Regions from separate parts of the Homo sapiens genome. Here all the other regions are linked to region 5. Evidence: promoter capture Hi-C in 16 types of primary human blood cells and fetal thymus (Javierre and others, 2016). All regions are on one chromosome and are shown on one strand. Each heading gives the region's core, a stretch centred on a gene start or on the middle of the fragment in contact. The rest is flanking DNA. Distances are from core to core; before and after follow the strand shown.

Region 1 (3,362 bases), core at 484-2,983, 1.4 Mb after region 5:
TCGAGAAAGTAAGAAAGCAGGAGACACTAAAAAACATAATAGAAGCCAGGTGCAGGTGCAGTGGTAGGTGCCTGTATTTCCAGCTACTCGGGTGGCTGAGGTGGGGGGAGGGGGAACACTGAAGCCCAGGAGTTCAAGTCTAATCGGGGCAACATAGCAAGAACCGGTCTGTAAAAAAATTCAAAGAATTTTTTTAAAGAAGCGTAATAGTTTCAGCAGGGGGTGGGGAGAATACTATAAGCTATTATTATAAAAACAGGCTATTATTAAAAAGACTCCATTGAGATATTAGAAATAAAAAGATAAGTTTTTTAAAAAACATTCATTGATAAGATAAATGCTGGAAAAGACAGAGCCAATCGAGGAAAAATGGTTTGGAAGATCAAGTTGAAGAATTCTCTCAAATTTGGCACAAAAGAGCCAAGAGTTGACATGTATGAATAGAAAGGTAAGAAATACATGCAGCTGGATCCAGGAGTTTCAACATCCAACTAATAAAAGTTCTAGAAGGCAGTAACAGAAAACAGAGGAGAGAGGAATCATAGCAATAGAGAAAAGTTCTCCAAAGCTGAAAAAAAAAACATGTAAGTCTTCAGACTGAAGTGCCTAACAGGATGAACGAAAAAGAAAAAAAAATCATAACTAAGCAATAGTAAATTTTCAAAAAAAAAAAAAAACAACAAAAGTTCTGGCATGGGAAACTGGATAGAATTGTGGCACCATTTATTTATTTATTTTCAACTTTTATTTTAGATTCAGGGGGTGCATGTGCAGATTTGTTACCTTGGTATACTGCATGATGCTGAGGTTTCAGGTATAAATGATCTTGTCACCCAGGTATGTGAGCACAGTACCCAATAGGAAGTTTTTCAACGCTTGCTCCCCTCCCTCCCTCTCCTCTCTTGTCATCTCCAGTGTCTACTGTTCCCATCTTTATGTCATAAACACCCAGTGTTTAGCTCCTACTTATAAGTGAGAACATGTGGTATTTCGTTTTCTGTTCCTGTTTTAATTCACTTAAGATAATGGCCTCCAGCTGCATCCCTGTTGCTGCAAAGGACATAATGTCATTCGTTTTATGGCTGTGTAGTACTCCATGGTGTACACGCAGTACCATTTATTGAGATAAGAGACCTGTTTGGGTGGAAAAGATTATAAGTATGGACATGTTAAAATGGTGACCATGAGACATCCAACTGGGTGCAGCTGGAATAGCAGCTAGTTGTGTGGGTCTGGATCCTCAAGGAAAAGATGGGAGTGAAGATACAAATCTGGGGGCTGTTTGTGCCTACATGATGATCCACAACAGGGATTGTCTCAGAGCTATGTTTTTCTCTATCAAAGCAGAGAGATGAAGTAACATAAAAAGAAAAGGCTGAGGCCAATGTCCTAAAAAAATTCAGAGTTTAAAGGATGAGTAGAAGAGGAAATGCCAGAAAAAGAGATTAAGGAGGAGCAGCCAGTGATGTCAGAGAAAAACACCAAGAGAACATGGCATCAGAGAAGCCAAGGGAAGAGGATTTTTCAAGAAAGCAGAAGTGATTCACTTTGTTGAGAGGTTAAGTGAAATAGGACTAAATATGTCCATTAAATGTGGTAAAAAGAAAGTCAATAATGGTTGGTTACATTCATTTCAGCAGGGATGGGAGTGAAATCAAACTAGGGTGGGCTGAGGAGGAACTGTGAGAAAATGTGGATGGTGGACATCACTAACAAAGAGAGGGGAGATAGATGTAATGAAGGAGGGAGAGTTTTGTGGAACGAATGAGGAGTTTTTGTTTTGTTTTTAGTGGCTGGCCCTTAACTGATTTAAATGTTAACTGGTAGCATGTAGTAGCAAGAGAAAAGTTGAAGATCTAGAAAAAGAAAGAATAAACAGAAATATTCCTAAGAAGCCACAATGGGATTGCTATTTTTTAAAAATTTTTATTTTCTGTCATATTAATGGATCCTTCAGGAGGTGTGTTAGTGTTTTTTAAAAGCCTCAGATTTCTGGCCGGGCATGGTGGCTCACACCTGTGATCCCAGCACTTTGGGAGGCCAAGGTGGACAGATCACTTGAGGCCAGGAGTTCAAGACCAGCCTGGCCAGCATGGTGAAACTTCATCTCTACTAACAATACAAAAATTAGCTGGGCATAGTGACACACACCTGTAGTCCCAGCTACTTGGGAAGCTGAGGCAGGAGAATCGCTTGAACTCGGGAGGCAGAGGTTGTAGTGAGTCGAGATGGCCCACTGCTCTCCAGCCTGGGCAACAGAACAAGACTCTGTCTCAAAAAAACAAAACAAAACAAAACAAAACAAAAAAACAAGCCTCAGATTTCTCATAAGAATTTGAACAATCAACCCATGGATAACCCAGATCAAAAATACTATACTAACTTCAGACATTGGCTGAATGCTATAATGATTAAAAAAAAAAAAAAGAACATATGAAGTTTGCCAATCAAAAAAATAGTTTATGTCCTAAGTTCTGAGCCAACCAACATAATTGTTTGGCCTACACTGGCTAATATGGTAGCCATTAGCCATGTGTGGTCATTCAAATTTAAATTAAAGATTTAGTTTCACCAGGTGCAGTGGTTCATGCCTAGAATCCCAGCACTTTGTGGGTCTGATGGGGGAGGATTGCTTGAGGCCAGGAGTGAGACCATCCTGGGCAACATAGTGAGAATGCATCTCTAAAAAATAAAAATAATAAAAAAACTGGCTGAGTGTGGTAGCACATGCCTCTAGTCCCAGCTACTCCAAAAGCCGAAGTGGGAGGATCACTTGAGCCCAGGAGTTCAAGACTGCAGTGAGCTATGATTGTGCCACTGCACTCTAGCCCAGATGGCAGAGTAAGACCCTAGCTTAGAAAAAAAAAAAAAAAATCTGTTTCTTAGTTGCAGTAGTCACATTTCAAGTGCTCAATAGCCACATGAGAATAGTGTCTATTGTAGAACAGTTTCATCATCATAGAAAGTTCTATGGTACAGTGCTGGCTAGAATTTAAGCTCCATTGAGGCAAAAGAAAAATATACCTTATATTTTGAATTCCTTCTCCAGTATCTACTTAATATGTATTGAGTGCTTTTATGTACCAGGTAATGCTCTTGTTATATTTTAGATAGACAGACTGATAGATTGATTTAATGCTTACAGCAACCCTATGTGACAGCTTTTCAATGTGCCCATTTTACAGATGAGAAAATGCAGTTACAGCTACATAGTGTTTCACACAGCTAGAATGTAGCAGAGCTGAGATTCCAATCCAGGTCACATGCTCCAGAACCTGTATTCACAAGAACTAAGCCACAGTCAAAACTTCACACTCACTGTTAAATTTTACTTTTGCTGCTAGTAGTATACTATGGGATCT
Region 2 (3,382 bases), core at 29-2,528, 1.4 Mb after region 5:
CACATCCTTTCCATGAGTGTAAACCTAAGAGTCCAGCTGCTGCTTAAATATGGAAAAAGGATCAAGAAGCAAAAGGAAAAGGGAGAAAAGAGAAGAGGGGGTTTGGATAGAGACCGATAAATATTGCAAAATCAGTCTCCTGCTTCATAAGTATAATTGTAACTCCTGAATGAAATATTCGTGATGGGTTTCTAAAGATGAATTTAAGACTATTTGCTAATTTTAAGTGTGTGAATGTGGTAAAGTGCAATTACTCTGCTGTTTTATAGCACATCCCCAGGCATCAGAGAGAACTAGCATTGGGTGAGTCCCCGCTGGGCCTCAGGCACTGGGCGCAAGATTCAGAGCAACCCTGTGAGATGGGCACCATGATTCCATTTTTTAAATTAAGAAACTGGCCTGTTGCTGCGGCTCAGGACTGTAATCCCAGCACTTTGGGAGGCTGAGGCAGGAGGATCTCTTAAGGCCAGGGGTTTGAGGTTATAGTGAGCTGTGGTTGCACCCCTGAATTCCAGCCTGGGCAACAGAGAGAGACCCTTTCTCTTAAAAACAAATAAATAAATAATTTAAAAGTAAAACATTGAAGTAAGGAAACCAAGGAAGCATTAACTAACTTACTTAAAGCCATACAGCTATTGTGTACCTTGGCCAGGATTCAAAGTAAGATATACAAGTGAAAAATCCATGCATTCTCAGTATTTTTCACTGCCTCTTATAGAATTCTGGACTCATGGTTTGTCCAATACAGCATTTGGTTATTATTTCTGTTTATTTTGTTACTTTATTTATTTATTTGAGATAGGGTCTCACTCTGTCACCCAGGCTGGAGTGCAGTGGCTTGATCTCGGCTCACTGCACCCTCCACCTCCTGGCTTCAAGCGATTCTCCAGCCTCAGCCTCCCAAGTAGCTGGGATTACAGGCGTGTACCACCATGTCCGGCCAAAAAACTTTAATTTTAAAACATTCATGTTAAAGCTGATTTTCTCATAGGCTAGATTATGACCCAACCACCACTTTTAATCAGCTACAAATGACATATCTGTTTAATCTATACATTGCTTTCTAATATATTTAACTTAGAGAACTACAATACTCCTGTAAAATTTTGTTTAATAATTCAGTATCATAGTCTATATCAACAAGAAGGAACACTTAGTTATCACAATGTGTCAATCACTATGCTTGTTACTTTAAATACAGTCAATCTTCATTATTTTCAGATTCTGTATTTGCAAATATGTCCACTCATTAAAATTTATTTGTATGCCAGGCATGCTCCCTCACACCTGTAATCCCAGCACCTTGGGAAGCCGAGGCGGGCAGATCACTTGATGCCAGGAGTTCGAGACCAGCGTGACCAACATGGCGAACCCCCCAACCCCCCATCTGTAAAAAAAAAAAATTTGTAACCCCCAAATCAACACTCCAGTGCTTTCATAGTCACAGACATACACGTGCACAGAACAGAAAAAAAAAAAATTGCATTGCTGGAGGAGGCCCATTTTCCCAGCTGAACTCAAACCAGGTGATACTCCGCCGCCTTCTTTTAGTTCTTACACAGTAAACAAGTTTCTTTTTTGTGATCTTCATAGTGCCACATTTTTTACATTTGTGTACTTTTTCTTGGTGATTTTGTTGTCTGAAATGGCTCCCAAGTGTAGTTCTGAAGTGCTGTCCAGTGTTCCTAATTGAAGAAGCTGTAATGTGTCTTATGAAGAAAATTAAGTATGTTAAAGAAACTTCCTTCAGGCAGCAGTTATAGCGCTTTGGCCATGAGTTCAGTGTTAATGAATCAATAGTTTATATTAAATAAGGTGTCTTTAAACAGAAACAGGAATAAAACAAGGTTACCTGGTTATCCCCTGATGAGAATGTTGTGACCAGGGGCTTGAGGGAACCTAACCCTATGTTATGCCCAGGAGCAATGGCTCTGTAATGTCTAATTCAATGTTTGAGATGACTTTATAGAACTACTGTGGATAAGAAAAAATTGACTGTACGTTTGCTTGTATAAGCTAATTCTTTAAAAAATTTTTATTATGAAAAATTTCAAATAGATAAGTAAAGAGAATAGAAAGGAAACCCTGGGGACCTATCATCACCCAGCCTCAAAAATTACCAACTCACCCAAACTTGTTTTTCTCTTTAACCATCTAATTCCTTCTCTCCTCCTTGCATTTGACACAAATCCCAGACATTGTATCATTTCAACCTTATCTACTTTATACGTTAAATTCCTGTTAAATTTTTTAAATTATAAGAATAGAAAATCTGAAATCTGGAAAAGTTACAAGGAGGAGAAAATAACCATGTAAATTAATACCGAATTAACATTTTATTTTTTCTCAGTCTTTTTATGTATAAATTAAAAGATTGGAATCATTCTGATTAGATTTCTTTTCATATAAAGTTAAATTGTTTTAAATAACATTAAACATTCTTCAAAAATATAGTGAAATAGGCTCTGCATGGTGGTTCACAACTGTAATCTCAGCACTTTGGAAAGCCAAGGCGGGTAGATCACTTGAGTCCAGTAGTTCAAGACCAGCCTGGGCAACATGGTGAAACCCCGTCTCTACCAAAAAATACAAAAATTAACTGGGCATGGTGGTGCAAGCCTATAATCCCAACTACTTGAGACGCTGAGATGGGAGGATCACCTGAGCCCTGGAAGGTAGAGGCTACGGTGAGCTATGATCACATCATTGCAGTCCAGCAAGGGTGACAGAGGGAGATCCTGTCTCAAAAATGTGTGTGTGTGTGTGTGTGTCTGTATGTGTAAAATAAAATATAACATTTTACACATTCTCATTTAATGTCATATTTTTTTCATATCTGCCCTACTTTTTAAGAGAGATGTGACTACTTATTTATTTAAAATTAATGTCATTTGAGATAATTGTAGATTCATATAAGCTGTAAGAAAGAATACAGACAATAAAGTATATAGTTTGTCAACTTAAAAGGAAGAAGCTGAGGCAAAATTAACGTAGAGAGTTTATCTGGGCCAAGTTTGAGGACTGCAGACCAGGACGTACTTCCACCTTACCTTGAGGAGTGCTCTGGGAACAAAGGAGAGGATCACATTTTTAAAGAAAAAGGGATGAATCAGCAGAGGGAGTGATTACAAAAGTTTTGTCAGGAATTCTCATTGGTTTACAGAAATAACATTGGTTAGTGATTGGTGATACATTGTTGAACTCTAGGGTGTGTGGCATTTTATGGCTGCTTGGCATTATTAGTCTAAAGCCCACATAACAAGTGACTTTAACAGTTGTTTTTTTTTTTTGGATTTGGTTTTTTTCTTTTTGAGACAGGCTGTCGCCCTGTTGCCCAGGCTGGATTTCAGTAATGCAATCTTAGGTCACTATAACCTCCGCC
Region 3 (3,250 bases), core at 544-3,043, 1.4 Mb after region 5:
GGTGGAGAAAGAGACTGCCATTTCATTCATTAAAGAAAGAGTGATTGGGTGGTTACTGTGTCCAGACCCTATTCTAGGTACTGAGGGCACTCCTGTGAACAAAATAGACACAACTCTTGCTTTCAAGGAGTTTTCATTCTTTTGGGGGAGGGAATGGATGATTAACAAGATAAATCAGTAAATAATGTGATATAAGAAATGGCAGTCAATGCTATGGGGAAACGAAGCCAAAAAGTGGGCAGCACCTACAGTGACGTTGGAATAAACACCTGAGTGAGGTGAGCGAGCTTGGCCCAGGGGTATCTGGGACTGGAAGGCTGTGGGCTTTGGCTTCTGTTCTGAGGGAGATGGGAAGCATTAGAGTAAATAATCCCAATCCAACCAGAAAGCAACTATACCTGGGGACAAAAGATTCCTAGCTTTGGCTTATACTCAGAGTGAGACGGAAGCTATTTGAGTAAAGGTTTACAAGTCAATGTGACAAGTGTACAAAACAGGTTTGGAGACCATGGTGTGAGAACACAGAGGAACACTACCGACACTGCCTAAGAGATTTGGAAAGGCCTCACAAAGGGGCTGTTTGCACGGCCTTAGTGAATGCACTGGGAATGTTTGCCAACCAAAGGAGAGAGGGGGAAGGAAGAAAGTACTAGTCAAGAGGGGCTGACTGTGCAAGGCCTTTCTGGAAGCTCCGAAGAATTAAAAGACAATGGTAGCCTTTCTTCTCTAGAAGTTTTAAGTGTCTAAAAATAATAAGAGAGGGCCTATAGAGCATGTTTTCCTCCCTTCCAAAAGATTTTTTTCAATGCTCTCTCCTACTTGTTTTTAGTAATTAGCATCCACTTTTTTGAAATTGGGCAGAAAGTTCAGTGAGAGATCGGGGACATTATCTAGCTATAGCCATTGAAGGTGCAAAGAGAATGTCTCTTCCCCTCTGTAAGTTCCATGATTTTAGTCTATAAAACAAACTGACAGTAGACAGACGAATGGGAAAAAGGCACATGCGTATATTAACGTGTGTAAACAAGGGAGTCATACACAAAGTATGAGACTTAAAGAAGGGGCCAGATAATGAAGTTTTATACCATCCTGAGGTTACAGAAAGAATAGGGGCTTGGGGCTTCTCGAGGAGAGATGGAGACACGGGTTATGGGAAAGTGAGGGGGAAAGCATGGCATAGAGCCTACCTAGTTTTGCAGATAAAATCCTCCAGGGAGGAGCTCTCAGAAAGAATAAGACAGGAGCCTGTAGTAACAGTTTCCCTAGTGGACCTTTAAGGTGTCCAACTTTTAGTCCCTTTTTCCCAAAAGTTAATCTTTCCTAGATCCAGAGAAGGGGAGCCTCAGAGAAAGCTTGGATGTTTATTTCACCTATATGGATTTTCTCTACAGATACAAATCTCCCCTATAAAAGACAGCTTTTCAGGGCTATTCTTGTGCTGGCAGTCCCTCTGAATAGCCATCTCAAAATAGACCAAAGGAGTATATTGTGAATGGCATATTTTTGGTTTCCTTCATTGTAGTATCCCTTTTTTTTTTTTGAGACGGAGTCTTGCTCTATTGCCAGGCTGGAGTGAAGTGATGCAATCTCAGTTCACTGCAACCTCCGCCTCCAGGGTTCAATAGATTCTCCTACTTCAGCCTCCTGAGTAGCTGGGACCACAGTCGCACACTGCCATGCCTAGCTAATTTTTGTATTTTTAGTAGAGATGGGGTTTTACCATGTTGGCCAGGATGGTCTCTATCTCTTGACTTCGTGATCAGCCCGCCTCAGCCTCCCAAAGTGCTGGGATTTCAGGTGTCAGCCACTGTGCCTGGCCTAGTGTCCCTTTTTAGAACTGATAAATCTGTTATTTCTGCATCTGTGAAACTCTTCTAAGAAATCAATAAGATTGACTGATTGATTGCCATTAAACTCAGTGAAAATGAAGCCAACATGGAGCCCAGATGGTGGTGAGAGGTGGCTCCTAAATACCTAAGAGGTGGCAGAGGGAGCGGTGGATATCTATAACTCAAGTGGGAAGCAATGCCAATGTCAGCAGTTAGCCCAGTGGTAGAAAAGATTGCACGACTATGGGAAAGAGAGAAAAAAGTTGAAGAATTGATGGGGCAGACATAAAAGGTGAGAATTTTACACTACAACTTGATTACTTTGGGGTTAAATTATACAGATCGTGCTTCTGTCTTTCAACAATGTTATCTTGGATTTATATAAAAATTTTAGAATTCTTGGCACAAGCTTTCAAGAGCTGTTACTCAATTTTTGTTTTGAAATGTTTTCAAATTTTCTATGCTCATATTTTACTCTGGTGAGCTCTTGTGTTTACCGAAAATGCATCCAGGCCTCTGGCTGAAAGAGTCCAAAGGGATTTCTGGAACTAATGGTATGAGGAAATAAAAGCAAAACTGGAATGAAAAGTTAGTTGACTTTTGTAGCTACCTTACAATTTACTCTGAAATTATTTAACATTTAGTTATTTATTAGCATAATAATTCATAAGTATACCAATTTATTTTACTTTCAGCTTCACAGAAAAGACAAATATTTTTCACTGTTAAAAGATAACATTTTCAAAAAGAGATAAAATTATGACACTTATACATATATAAAACTGAACAAGTGTTAAAGATTTTATTCAACTGGTAAGGAGGAAAGTAGACACATGTTATTGCAAGTTCAAATAAGTTAAAAAAAAAAGCACACATTTACATGGAGTAAAGGATGTTGAAAGGGATGTGCAAATGGAGGCAAAACTAACTTCTTTCACAGTGAGGGAGAGAGGTCAATCAAAACTCCTCCAGGCAGTTCAGAATTAGCATGTTATTAGACAAGAATTATTTGCCATTGCTATCAGTTATCTACAGTTCACAGAATTGTAAAATAGCTTCGATAGAATGAGAATCAAATAATGCAGGAGGTGCCATCTAGAGTCTATGTAATGCATAATTTTCCATTGAAGCAGAAATATTACCCCACATCACTTGGGAAACTCTATGTAAAATTTATAAAATAATATTTACCACAGAACATTTCAACCATATGTAAAAATAATAGTAATGAATACCAATATACAGTCTGCTTCAGCAATCAATGATATTTTGCCAATCTTGTTTTATCCACCTCCCCTACTTTTTTAATAAGCTGAAATATTTTAAAGACATACCCACATATCATACTATTTTAAATATCATACTCTTGTAAATACTACAAAATAAATTTTTTACATCACCACGATACCATTTTTCACACT
Region 4 (3,025 bases), core at 485-2,984, 1.5 Mb after region 5:
GAACTGAATAATAGAAGGGAAAAGAAAAAGAACTAATAAAAATCCTGAGTATATTTGTCCAGTATAAATTCAAATAGTCTGCATAGCAGTAGAATCTACTTTTGACTATTGAGGTGATTCTTTCTTTTGAAATTTTTCCATTGTTGTAGTGAATGTGAGTCATTTAAATCCCCCTGTATTCCTTCATTCTTGTAAATCTTCATTAGTCAGGAAACATAATCCAAGACTATTTTTGGTTCAGTTGCTTTTTTAATTCCACATAGGAATAATTAAGAGTTTTCAATTGCCTATAACATTGAGATAAACTTTCAAATCATGGCATTACCTGTTCCTCCAGAAAGAGATGGAGCCCTGCCGTTTATGCAGAAATAAGCAAGGCATAATTATAATAAAATCTCTAGAATTTTGTGTGTATTTTAGTTCTTTATGCTGTTACATAGTTGGCCATTTCTTTGTTTTCTCTTCTTTCTTTTCTTTTCCTTTCCTTTCCTTTTCCCTCCCCACTCCCCCACCTTCCCTTCTCTTTCTTTTCTTTCCAGAGCCTTGCTCTGTTGCCCAGGCTGGAGTGCAGTGGCACAATCTGGGCTCACTGCAGTCTCCACCTTCGGGATTCAAACGATTCTCATGCCTCAGCCTCCCGAGTAGCCAGGACTACAGGTGTGCGCCACCATGGCTGGCTAATTTTTGTATTTTTAGTAGAGATGGGGTTTCACCATGTTGGCCAGGCTGGTCTCAAACTCCTGACCTCAGGTCATCTGCCCACCTCTGCCTTCCAAAGTGCTGGGATTACAGACTTGAGCCACCGTGCCTGGCCAAGTTGGGCATTTCTGAAGATTTAAGTTTTAGTGCCTGATACATTTTTTTTCATATTTGGAATAACTTTAAGATGAGATGATGTTAGGTCTATCTCAGAGTACTCAACTTTGTGTTAACATAGAAGAAATTACTTCAAAAATAGTTATACTTATGACAACAGCAAACATTTCCCTGGCAGTTTTTAGTAACGTGGATTGAAGTGTATTCTATTACCCTTTGGTAAATTTTTCTGTGGTTATAGTTCTCTGTTGATGAAAAAGTTTATTATAATTAACAGAAACAAATTTAATATATAAAATCTACTTTTGTAAAATTTGAAGAATGTTTTTCTAGAATGTAAAGTTGGGCCCAGTATGTAACACATTTGATACAATAAACTTTTATGTAACATATTTAATTAAATAATGTAACATATTTGATTAAATAATTCCTTGATAAAAACATTGGTATTTTGAATAGTCAAGATGATTGAGTTTTTACTGCAGTATTACTCTATTCTGAACTTGGTAAATATTTTTTATGAGTTAGAATTGGAAAGGGGGTGCTTCAATTAACATATTGATTTGTTTTTATTTTTTCTCAGATTATTAATAGTGGTTATGTTCCAATGCTGATAACTTTATCAAGTTAATCATAGATCTTTGGGAGATACTTCTTCCATACTATAATTGTGAGGTGATTAAATTGGACAGAATTTCATTTATAGTCATTTCTTGGTATATACAGGGGATTATTCCAGGACCCCCGCAAATACCAAAATCTGCACATACTCAAGTTCTGCAGTCGCTTCTCCCTCCATATAGGCATGTTTTACATCCCTTGAATACTGCATTTTTTTATCTCTTTCGTTGAAATAATTCGTTGTAAGTGGACTCCTGCAGTTCACACCAGTGTTGTTGAAGGGTCAGCTGTGTTTAATTTATCTTTTTCTTCAGCAAATACATGATAACTTGAGTAGCAATATAATTAACCTTAGGTGGATATGAAATATCTTATGTTTCCAGAAATAAATTATTGAATTATTCCTGTTTAATAGTTTATTTTAAATGTGACATTCAGTTTCTTAATTTAAGGTATGTGTGTCCAAGGAAAGAATATTTTTTCATGAATGAAGAGCTGTAGTTACCGAAGATAAGAGTTATTCTTCCATAAGGGTCATTTGAGGTGCTTAACTGACTTTACCTGTTTCTTGGAATGGCTTAAACATTTTTTTTTTAATTTATAAAAATCTGCTGGGTATTTTACCCTACTCATACATGAATACTGTTGAAGTTAGGGAAAGATATCACAGCTCCATTCTCTGTACTTTGGCCTTTGTTGTATTAAATGAGTAGGGATAGTGTTTGGTCTGTTGTGAATTGCTGTCTCAGTTATTTACGACTGTCTAATAGATTTCTCCAAAACTCATTGGCTTAAAACATACAGTTTACAGTTTTTGCATGTCAGAAATCTGGGCACAGCTTGTCTGGGTCCTCAGCTTTAGGGCCTCTCACAAGGCTACAGTCAAGGCAGGGCTTGAGGTCTCATTGTGAATACTCTGCTGGTGAAAAATCTGCATCCAAACTCACGGTTGTTGGCAGAATTCAGTTTCTCAAGCGTTGTTGGACTAAGAGCCTCAGTTCCTTTTGGCTGTATGCCAGAGGCTGCCTATACTGTGTTCCTTGCCACATGGGACTTTCCCACAGGAGGCTTGCTTCATCAAAGTGAGCAAGCTGAGAGGGCAATAGAGTAAGCTGAGGAGGCAGTAGCTACCAGGACAGAAGTCACAGTCTTTTGTAACTTAATTACAGAAGTGACACTCTGTCGCCTCGGCTGAATTTTTTTTTAAATTTTTAAATTTCTTTTTCTTTTTTTTCTTTTTTTTTTCCTTATTCTTTAATTTGAGATACTGGGGATTGAACATCTGCTGAATTCTGTTGATTAGAAGCAATTCACTCATTGGGTCCAGGCCATACTCAGGGGAGGGGATTTATAAGGGTGTGAATACCTGAATGCAGAGACCATTGTGGTACTCCCTGCCACAACTCTTTTGAACCTTTTTATGGGTGGACCATATGGTTATATCAAATCATGGTACCTGATTTGAATTTATGGTGGTCTGGCAGTGTTTGTTATGATTATCAGGTTTTCAAATTTTTATTTGTAAACTGAAAAATTAGATTAAAGCCTTATTCAATTTAAAACATGTTATCTTTATTTCTAGCAAATA
Region 5 (3,259 bases), core at 460-2,959:
AAACAACTAACATTAAAGTTGTTCATCAGCTTTCTCTGCTTAGTGCCCTTAGAGGCACAATGAGAAGAACCCATTCTCATTTAGGGATGTTAAAAAAGAGTAGCCTCAGTCGGCTGAGGCAATTAATCTATCCCTCTGCAGGTTTAAGTAAGTGACATTTAAGAACAAGTGAAAAAGGAACACAAACTTTCACTTATGTCAAAGGTGAATTAATATGCTTGCATTGAACTTCAAACTGTGTCTACATCTTTACTTTTAGAATACAAATATTAGTCCTTAGAATGTAAATTTGTGCAATGGATTTAATGCACTACTTTCCCCATTTAAATCCATTCATTCATTCACTACTCAAATATTTATTGAGCACCTATTATGGGAAAGGAACATTCTAGGAGCTGGGGATACAGAGAGAATGAGCCAAAGACAACACACATGAAAGTAATAAGACAAGTTCAGATAGTGACAAGTGCTATAAAGAAAATACTTCTTTGACTATAGCTGATTCATTTTCTTGGTATATTATGAATGCATGATCTGAAGATCTCAGAAAACAAAGAGTCTAAATCACTTCAAGTGAAGTTTACAGCTCACATTCCATACACATGTGTATTGCAGTTTCAATATCCCAAATATGAGTCAAAGGAAGTATAAAAGAAACCAAGAATCACTGAAATATGAGACGAAACAGATTTAAAAATCTGTTCTCTCTGCTGGATATGCACACGGACGAGGAGAAAGGTGAATATCCAATCGATTTTTATTTTAAGTAAAAGTGGTAAAAATACAGACGCTCGTTCAGTATTTCATGACATTCTATTTTAAAGGCAACTGCAACGCATATTAAGAAAGCTACATACAAGCAAAAATATTTAAAATAATTTCTGAGAGCATTCAAATCACTCCCAACTTCTTCCCTCCCCCTGCCCCCCGGCGCCCCCATTTTCACCTCCTTTGAGTTGCTCTGAAACGCTGCTGGTTAGGCAGGAACTCACTTTCCCTGACTTTGGCTCATTTTCAACTCCCCAAAACACGCAAGGCAAACGATAAATTGTTCTCTTACTCCCATGTTCAATTCCACGGAAAGCCAAGAAACAGTCGTTCAGCAACCTCTGTCTCGGCTGCGCCCTGCAGGTGAAGGAACCGCTGGGAAGGGGCTCCCCGAGACTAGCATCCCGAGGGCTCGGACCCCGGTCCGCCTGGCCCCTCGCCCGCCCGCCAGGCCCGCCGAATGCGGCCTCCGCCCCGCGCGCCTAAAGGAGGAGCGTCGCGGGGGATGGAGGCGGCGCGCGGTGGGACCTGGGGAGATGCACCCGCAGCGTCCGCCGCGCCAGCCGGCTCCCTACCCCGAGGCGAGGCCCCAGATCCCCGCCCCGCAGGGCCTCTGACCTCTCCGGGCCCCGGGGCTGCTGCTGCCCGCACTCGTGCTACCGCTGCCGGAGCCGCTGCTGCTGCTGTTGCCGCTGCTCTTGGCATTCTTACGCTGGGCCATTGCACGGTCCGCGGGGGCTGGTGAGGGCTGGCGGACCTCCTTCAGTGCGCGGGGGTACACACGCGACGCGGGAACCGCTGGCGGCGGCGGGCCGCTGGAGCGGGTTCGGGCCGCTGCTCCTGCAGCAGACCCTGTGCCTCAGCACCGCCTGCAGCACCTGGGAAGACTTCACCCGCCTGCCGGCTGCGCGCGCCCGGCCTCGCGTGTACGAACCTGTGACTCCCTCCCGGGGCGAGAGCGCGCGGCTCGCCGCCCGACGGCCACGCCCCTTCCCGGCCTCGCCCCGCCCCCGGAAGGCTGAGTGACGGCGCCTGGGACCCAATCGCAAGGGCCCTTACGAGGCGGCGGTACCCTGCCGCGCTCCCCGCCCCTGCTCACTTAGGGCTGTTCGGGCGCTACGCAGCTGCCTGTGAGCGCGAGCCTCTTTCGGCTTTCCAGTTTGTCTCGGTCCTTTGGAACGTGGCAAACGTGGAAGCCGAGAGGGCTCTCGCGAGCGTTGGCAGACCCCGCTCCATAGGGATGGGACAGGGCGCGGTGCGGAATAGGTGGACACGTGGGCCGCCCGTGGGCGGAGTGCGCCGCTTCTAGGCCTTTCACTGTGGATTTTGTCCCCTTTCCGTATACAAGGAAAGGAAGGAGTGCAGTCTCGCTTCTTGCGAAAGAGATCCCTATTTCTTGTCCTGATTAATACTAAGACATTTCTGGAATGGTGATATTAGGACTAGTTCAATGCTTAAACCGTAGTAGTTCATCCATTTGGTGCTGAAGCAGGAATTTAGTTCGTTTGTGCCATCAGTATTTTCAGATACTCTTAGTTAAGGAATGAAAATGCAAATGTGACACAAAAAGTTCATTTTCTTACCCTGGATGGCACCCTCTGTCTGAAATCCCTGGCTGCTTTGCTAACGCCTGGGCCTGTGCTGCCTGAGAATTCCCAACAGAGTATTAAAATGTCTTGGCACGTGGTTGAACCAGACAAGGACTTGAGATCAGCGACGTCTTTATCATCTTTGTGTCACCATTGCTAACACCATGCCCAATGTGTAACAGGCAAGCAAGAAATGCTTAGTGATTTGATACATTTCTGTCAATTGCTGAACCCACAGCTCTTGATCATGTTTCGTAGCAACCCCTGGGAGTGTCTCAGGAGGGCTCAGGGACCAGAGAGAGCAGTTGCATTGTGGCATCTGGTTTCATTCCTCTTTTCCAGCCCCACAAACCCACCCACCCGCGCCTTCAGAAGCACTCCCGCCTCCCCCCGGCCCCATGCCTTTTCACCTGTGGATGGTTGGATGCTGCTTGACCCTGCCCTGATGATGCACAGAAACCCCCCAAAGGTCATGTTGCAGAATAAAGAGAATGCCTTTCTTTACCTTTTGTCAAATAGTGTTAGGCTATTATCAAGAGACGGTGGGAGGGGAGAGTTCACAGAGTTTTTATTGAAGTAGCTCTCTCAGCTTTTATCTTGTGGCATCTCCTTCTGCATCCATATATCCTTTCTCCCATTCAGGGCCCCCTTACAACCCTCTATTATATTATCTCAATGAAGGAGGTGGAGAACTGGATTAAGAAATAAATCTGAGTGATGGTGCTTCATATAAAATAAAAATGAGAGCTAAATTTCAAAACACAATGCTCTAGCCACCCCCCACCCCCCACACCAAAGATATTTTTACCCTTAAATTCTCACAAAACCCTGTAGTCATATCAATTTTTTAAAGAAATTAGATACTGGAAGCTCAGAGAGATAAAACAAAGTAGGGTCACTGT
Region 6 (3,375 bases), core at 652-3,151, 1.4 Mb after region 5:
TCTTTTACGTTTAGCTTTAACATTTGACTTAATTTTGTGTTTTAAGTGTGAGGGAGGGATCAAACTTGATTCTTTTGCATGTGAATATTCATTTGCCTCAACATCATTTGTTGAAAATATTATTTTTCCCCATTGAACAGTCTTGGTACCCTTGTTGAAAATCAACTGACCATCAATGAAAAGTGTTTATTTCTAGGCTCTCAATTCTAGTCCATTGATCTATATATGTCTATCCTCATGCCAGTACCACATTGTATTAATTACTGTAGTTTTGTAGTATGTTTTAAAATTCAGGTTATTTCCTTAGGTATCTAGAATCACTGAGTCAAAGAGTATAAATGTTTTTAAAGATTTTGATACATGTTGATAAACCTTCTTCCAGTAAAATCAAATTAGTTAATAAATCTACCAAAAGTAGACCATATATTTCCAATGAATCACAATTTTTATATTTCAACAAAATTGGCAAGTTATGAATCTGAAATAGATGCAGCAGTGTTACATTAATGGATATAAGGATCTAGTATGCAACTATATTAATTTCCTGTTGCTATTGTAACAAATTGCCACAAATTTAGTAACTTAAAATAACACAAATTTAGCCAGGTGCAGTGGCATGTGCCTGTAGTCCCACCTACTCAGGAAGCTGAGGTAGGAGGATTGTTTGGGCCCAAGTGTTTGAGGATGTAGTGTGCTATGATCAGGCCTGTAAATAGCCACTGCACTCCAGGCTGGGCAACACAGTGAGACCCTGTTTCTAAAAGACAACACAAATATATTATCTTACAATTTTGGAGGCTGGAAGTTCAAAATCAGTTTTACATAGTTATAGTTGAGATGTTTACAAGGTGTGGGTTTTTTCTGGAGGATCTTAAAGGAGAATTCATCTTCTTGCATTTTTCTGCTTCTAGCCTGTATTCTTTTTTTGAGACTGAGTCTTGCTCTATCACTCAGGCTGGTGTGCAGTGGCACAATCTTGGCTCCCTGCAACCTTCACGTCTCGGGTCCAAGTGATTCTCATGCCTCAGTCTCCCGAGTAACTGGGATTACAGGCACCCACAACAACACCCGGCTAATTTTTGTATTTTTAGTAGAGACGGGGTTTCACCATGTTAGCCAGGCTGGTCTTGAACTCCTGACCTCAAGTGATCCACCTACCTCGGCCTCCCAAAGTGCTGGGATTATAGGCATGAGCCACTGCACCCAGCCTAGCCTGTATTCTTTAGCTTGTGGCTTCTTCCTCCATCTTCAAAGTATGTCATCACTACTCATCTACTTCTTCATCACATCACCTTCTTCTCTAACTTTTGATTCCTCATGTATCTCTCTTATAATGAGTTCTGTAATTACATCAGGCACACCTAGATAATCAGGATAGTCTCTCCATCTCAAGATCCCTGATTTAATCATATCTGTAAAGTGTCTTTTGCCTTATAAGGTAACATTTACAAGTTCCAGGGCATAAGACATAAATAGGAGAGGTCTTCAAAAAACTCACAGAAAATACATATTATGAAAAAACTATGCATGGACTTTAAGTTTTTTTGCACCAAAATAAGCTCGTACTAACTTATTACAACATGTCTAAACAGAATCTAGTTTAAGGCACTAAAAAGGATAAGACATCAGTTTGAGAAAAGCCCCTATCACAGCAACACGAATTCTGCTAAAATTAACACAAGAACAAACATAAAATTTGTGGTGAAGCTTAGGTGAGAGAAGACGAAATCATTAATGCTTTACAAAAAGCTTACAGGGACAGTGCCTCAAAGGAATCAGAGGTTACAATTGGATATTTGTTTTAAGAAGGGACAAGACAATGTTGAAGATGAAGCCCTGAATGGCAGACCATCCACATCAATTTGTCGGGAAAAAAATGTATCTTGTTCATGCCTTAATTCAAGAGAAGTGACAACAGCACAAACAATAGCCAACACTATAGACATCTCAATTGATTTCATTCACACAATTCTGACTGAAGAAACAAATTTGAACAAACTTTCCAGTCAATGGAAGCCAAAACCATTGCATGCAGATCAGCTGCAGACAAGAACAAGCTTCAATGGAAATTTTAACCAAGTGGGATCAAGATCCTGAAGGATTTCTTCAAAGAATTGTAACAGGAGGTGAAACATGGCTTTACCAGTATGACCCTGAAGACAAAGCACAATCAAAGCAATGGCTACCAAGAGGTGGAAGGGTCTATCTAGTCAAGAGTAAAAGTCATGGTAACAGTGTATCAGGATGCTCAAAGCATTTTACCTGTTGATTTTCTGGAGGGCTGAAGAGCAATAACATCTGCTTATAATGAGAGCGTTTTTGAGAAATTTAGCCAAAACTTTAGCAGAAAAACATGGAAGAAAACTTTATCAGAGTGTTCTTCACCACCACGACAATGCTCCTGCTCATTGCTCTCATCAAACAAGGGGAACTTTGTGAGAGTTTTGATGGGAAATCATTAGGTATTTACCTTACAGTGCTGATTTCACTCCTTTCAACTTCTTTTTGTTTCCTAATCTTAAAAAATCTTTAAAGAGAGCTCATGTCTGTTAGTAATATAAAAAAGACTACATTCACATGGTTAAATTCCCAGGATTTTCAGTTCTTTAGGAAGGGACTAAACAGCTGGTATCATTGCTTACAAAAAAGTATCTTGACCTTGATGGAAGTTATGTTGAGAAATAAAGTTTATCATTTTATTTTTATCTTTTAACTCCATTTTTCCATAAACTTTTTGAAATTCCTTCATATGTTTGGGAACCATTATTCAGTCAGCCACAAAAACCTTTTATAGATACTCTATAAATTTATTCACAAGTAATAAACTTTCACATTCTTTAGTTGTTAAATCAGTGTAATGACATAAAATTACAACTAATTCCATTAAAATTAACCTGCATTTATTGATGGTACAACCAGGAAAAAAGCTGAAGACCATATATTACAATGAGGTAATTTTGTGATATCTGCAGTCATGAGCCAGAGAGGTCACTGGGGAACAAACATACAGTAAAGGGGGAAACTTACTGAGCCTCACTGATAAAGGACCTCTGGGCCACAGCACGAGGGAGAAGATTGTAAGTTACAGTTTTTGCAGACTGCTCTAAATACCATAGGTAATGCCACATAAGTGCATGTGATCAGAAGTGTGCCATAATTTTTTATTACTTCAGCTGAATACCTGAAAGTTGAGAACTACTGGTAATTGGAAAATTACTTATCCAAATTTCTTAAAGTTCTATATTGTAAATTAATGGCTCACAAAGTACGGTCCAGGTACCACCTGTTATTTCCAAGGACCTCACAGTTATAAGGATCAGAATTATGTCTTTTAATTTTTTTTTTTTTTTTTTTTGAAACGGAGTCTCCCTCTGT
Region 7 (2,930 bases), core at 226-2,725, 1.5 Mb after region 5:
GAAACATGGAAAATAGAAAATATAACTAATACACTTATGGTCCTAGCTCTTTGCATATATCCACTATACTCCCCTGAACAGCTTGTTAAGAATGGGAACAATATTCCTATTAGTGAAGTGAGGAAATCCCAACTAAAGGAAGTTAAATGTCTGTCCAGTATCATATCTGGTAAGTTGCGGAGAGATACTTTTAACACAATTTGGCTAAAGGAATTTTTCAGGTGAAAGAAAAAGTACCAATGGATTTCTTTTGGCTGCGCATGAAAAAATAGAGATGAACTAAAGAAGAAACAGTTTAGTTTTTGAGCAGAACTTGAAGGAAATATTTCTAAGCAGGAAGCTGTTAGAGACTTGGTTGGTGTGTCTGTATGACAAGAAAGTGAGGAAAGTTATGTTGTTGGATGTGAAAGGCAGCAACTAGGCCTTCTCATATATGATTCCATGCCTCAAGCCATCACACAGACTATTCAATTGGAGTAGGATCAGGCTTCAAAGAAAGGCTTTGGATCTCTGTTTCCATGGCCCTCTGATTGTACTGATGTACTTATGGCCAACTCATGGAGACTTTTTCAGGGCCATAAAATCCCAGAAAGTGGCCGGGCGCGGTGGCTCACGCCTGTAATCCCAGCACTTTGGGAGGCCGAGACGGGCGGATCACGAGGTCAGGAGATCGAGACCATCCTGGCTAACACGGTGAAACCCCGTCTCTACTAAAAATACAAAAATTAGCCGGGCATGGTGGCGCGCGCCTGTAGTCCCAGCTACACGGGAGGCTGAGGCAGGAGAATGGCGTGAACCCGGGAGGCGGAGCTTGCAGTGAGTCGAGATCGTGCCACTGCACTCCAGCCTGGGCGACAGAGCGAAACTCCGTCTCAAAAAAAAAAAAAAAAAAAAATCCCAGAAAATACTATGGAATATGGTATCACAGCACAAGAACTATAGCTTCTCCAGACTGGCTTGTCATGGCAGTCTGGACAATGGACAAAATGGCAACTCCAAAAACGACCTCTGTACCAAAATCTGCCCCTAAATGTTGGGAACATTAACTTTATTGTCGGTAGCTAGAGTCACTGTGCAAGAATCTGTGAATGATTGATTACCCAGGATAAAGATTGACACACCCTGTAAACAAAGCAATATCTCTGCAAAATGAGACAAAATGAAGGATAGGAATAAAAACAAACCCTCTTCAAAGGAACCTGGTGATAAGGTGATATGGATCCCAAGGAAGAAACTGATGTGGTTGGCACTTGGAGTAATTGGGTCAAGATATTAACGGGGGCAGGTGGGCTTCAGCAGGCAGTTTTCCACCCACTTGAAACAGAAGGTGCTTCTTTAGAATCAGATTCCTCCAAAATGATCAACCTCCAACTACTGGAGAAAAGAAGTCAAGAGGCTGCCTGACCCTTGCTCCTGTATCCCGATTTGACAGCCTATGAGAGGAAGATAGACAAGGTCCCTGATCCTAGAAGTTACTGAAGACCTTGCATTCCATTGAGGATACAGTGGGATAGGATGGAGGGATTTGGCATACAATAGTTTTTTTCTTTTTTTGAGATAGAGTCTCACTCTGTCACCCAGGCTGGAGTACGGTGGCATGATCTTGGCTCACTGCAACCTCCACCTCCCGGGTTCAAGCGATTCTCCTGCCTCAGCCTCCCGAGTAGCTGGGATCCTAGGCACCCACCATGATGCCCAGCTAATTTTTGTGTTTTTAGTAGAGATGGGGTTTCACCATGTTGGCCAGGTTGGTCTCAAACTCCTGACCTCGTGATCCACTGGCCTCGGCTTCCCAAAGTGCTGGGATTACAGGTGTGAGCCATCATGCCTAGCTGGCATACAATTTTTTTTTTTTTTTGAGATGGAGTCTCGCTCTTTCGCCCAGGCTGGAGTGCAGTGGCACGATCTCTGCTCACTGCAAGCTCCGCCTCCTGGGTTCACGCCGTTCTCCTGCCTCAGCCTCCCCAGTAGCTGGGACCACAGGCGTCTGGCTGGTCCCATGCCTGGCTAATTTTTTTGTATTTTTAGTAGAGACGGGGTTTCACCATGTTAGCCAGGATGGTCTCGATCTCCTGACCTTGTGATCCGCCCGCCTCGGCCTCCCAAAGTGCTGGGATTACAGGCGTGAGCCACCGTGCCCGACCTGCATACAAATTTTTATGGCTCTTTTGGGTATCAGTGTTCACATGATTATCTTAGCAGGTTCTTTTGAGGGGTGAGGACCACAGCTTCAACTGGCCAGATTTGAAAGGGGAGTGAAATATGTAAGAGAAGTAACTGTAATCATCTGTGTTGGGCTGCTTAAAGCATTCTTAGGCACTGCCATTATTGCTCTTATTGCTGAATGCACAGTTGGTATTGATACTTTGCATACTTGTAAGTGCTCATAAATTTCAATTGAGAAGAGTTGCTTGTGATAGTGGGATGAACGCACTTACTAGGCCTCCAATTCCATCCACATTATGCAACAAAAACACCATATAATTACAGGAGGAGTAAAGGAACACAAAACCATAATTAAGGACTTCAAGACAGCAGTGGTATTGACAAATGCAATTTATTACAGTAGTTCAGTGTGCCCACTGGACAGGCTGATAGGAGCTAGAGGTTTCCATTATGGTAGATTATTACTATTGAATTCAGTTGTTATATTCCTGCTATTTCAGACATTGTATATCAAAACTGTTGGCACCTGGAATGTCATCTTAGACATTTCAAATGCCTTTTTTTAAAATCCTTTATGCACGAAGAGATTAAGATCAGTAGCATTCACCTGGCTGGGGCTTCAATGCATATTTATGATACTGCAACAGGAGTATGAGAATTCTCATACCCACCAATAGGTGGACGGAAACATGAAACGAATTTCTCTCCCTCTGGGAGTTTAGTTCCACTGCATGATGTAATTATGCAGAGAGGCCCTATATTAG

The links. Contacts are between HindIII fragments. The CHiCAGO score rates a contact against its expected background, and 5 or more counts as called.
Region 1: a fragment that was not itself captured here is called in contact with the fragment with the promoter of ASPH in region 5 in 1 of 17 cell types (total B cells); the score reaches 7.9 in total B cells.
Region 2: a contact is called between a fragment that was not itself captured here and the fragment with the promoter of ASPH in region 5, in 1 of 17 cell types (monocytes). The highest score is 6.7, in monocytes.
Region 3: a contact is called between a fragment that was not itself captured here and the fragment with the promoter of ASPH in region 5, in 1 of 17 cell types (endothelial precursors). The highest score is 6.2, in endothelial precursors.
Region 4: a fragment that was not itself captured here is called in contact with the fragment with the promoter of ASPH in region 5 in 8 of 17 cell types (M1 macrophages, activated CD4 T cells, monocytes and 5 more); the score reaches 13.1 in M1 macrophages.
Region 6: a fragment that was not itself captured here is called in contact with the fragment with the promoter of ASPH in region 5 in 11 of 17 cell types (naive CD8 T cells, naive CD4 T cells, total B cells and 8 more); the score reaches 15.4 in naive CD8 T cells.
Region 7: a contact is called between a fragment that was not itself captured here and the fragment with the promoter of ASPH in region 5, in 1 of 17 cell types (activated CD4 T cells). The highest score is 6.4, in activated CD4 T cells.

Annotation. Positions count from the first base shown.
Region 1 is chr8:63,066,879-63,070,240 of GRCh38, forward strand. All of the region lies in intron 2 of TTPA (alpha tocopherol transfer protein), which reads right to left. Among named protein-coding and RNA genes, the nearest start is that of TTPA, 17 kb to the right of the region's middle. The HindIII fragment of the contact is 8,417 bases long and covers 1-3,362 here.
Region 2 is chr8:63,127,965-63,131,346 of GRCh38, forward strand. No RefSeq gene overlaps it. Among named protein-coding and RNA genes, the nearest start is that of YTHDF3-DT, 39 kb to the right of the region's middle. The HindIII fragment of the contact is 4,490 bases long and covers 1-3,382 here.
Region 3 is chr8:63,087,239-63,090,488 of GRCh38, forward strand. No RefSeq gene overlaps it. Among named protein-coding and RNA genes, the nearest start is that of TTPA, 2.8 kb to the left of the region's middle. The HindIII fragment of the contact is 886 bases long and covers 1,351-2,236 here.
Region 4 is chr8:63,197,753-63,200,777 of GRCh38, forward strand. All of the region lies in intron 4 of YTHDF3 (YTH N6-methyladenosine RNA binding protein F3), which reads left to right. Among named protein-coding and RNA genes, the nearest start is that of YTHDF3, 31 kb to the left of the region's middle. RefSeq lists an enhancer at 2,136-2,185. The HindIII fragment of the contact is 5,756 bases long and covers 1-3,025 here.
Region 5 is chr8:61,712,883-61,716,141 of GRCh38, forward strand. ASPH (aspartate beta-hydroxylase) reads right to left here and starts at 1,710. Exons shown (of 25, transcript NM_004318.4): 1 at 1,387-1,710. The coding sequence starts at 1,489. It overlaps MIR4470 (microRNA 4470), which reads left to right and starts at 1,906; the gene lies at 1,906-1,977. RefSeq lists silencers at 1,080-1,509, 1,550-1,919. The HindIII fragment of the contact is 6,840 bases long and covers 1-3,259 here.
Region 6 is chr8:63,107,339-63,110,713 of GRCh38, forward strand. No RefSeq gene overlaps it. Among named protein-coding and RNA genes, the nearest start is that of TTPA, 23 kb to the left of the region's middle. The HindIII fragment of the contact is 308 bases long and covers 1,748-2,055 here.
Region 7 is chr8:63,226,894-63,229,823 of GRCh38, forward strand. No RefSeq gene overlaps it. Among named protein-coding and RNA genes, the nearest start is that of YTHDF3, 60 kb to the left of the region's middle. The HindIII fragment of the contact is 2,985 bases long and covers 1-2,930 here.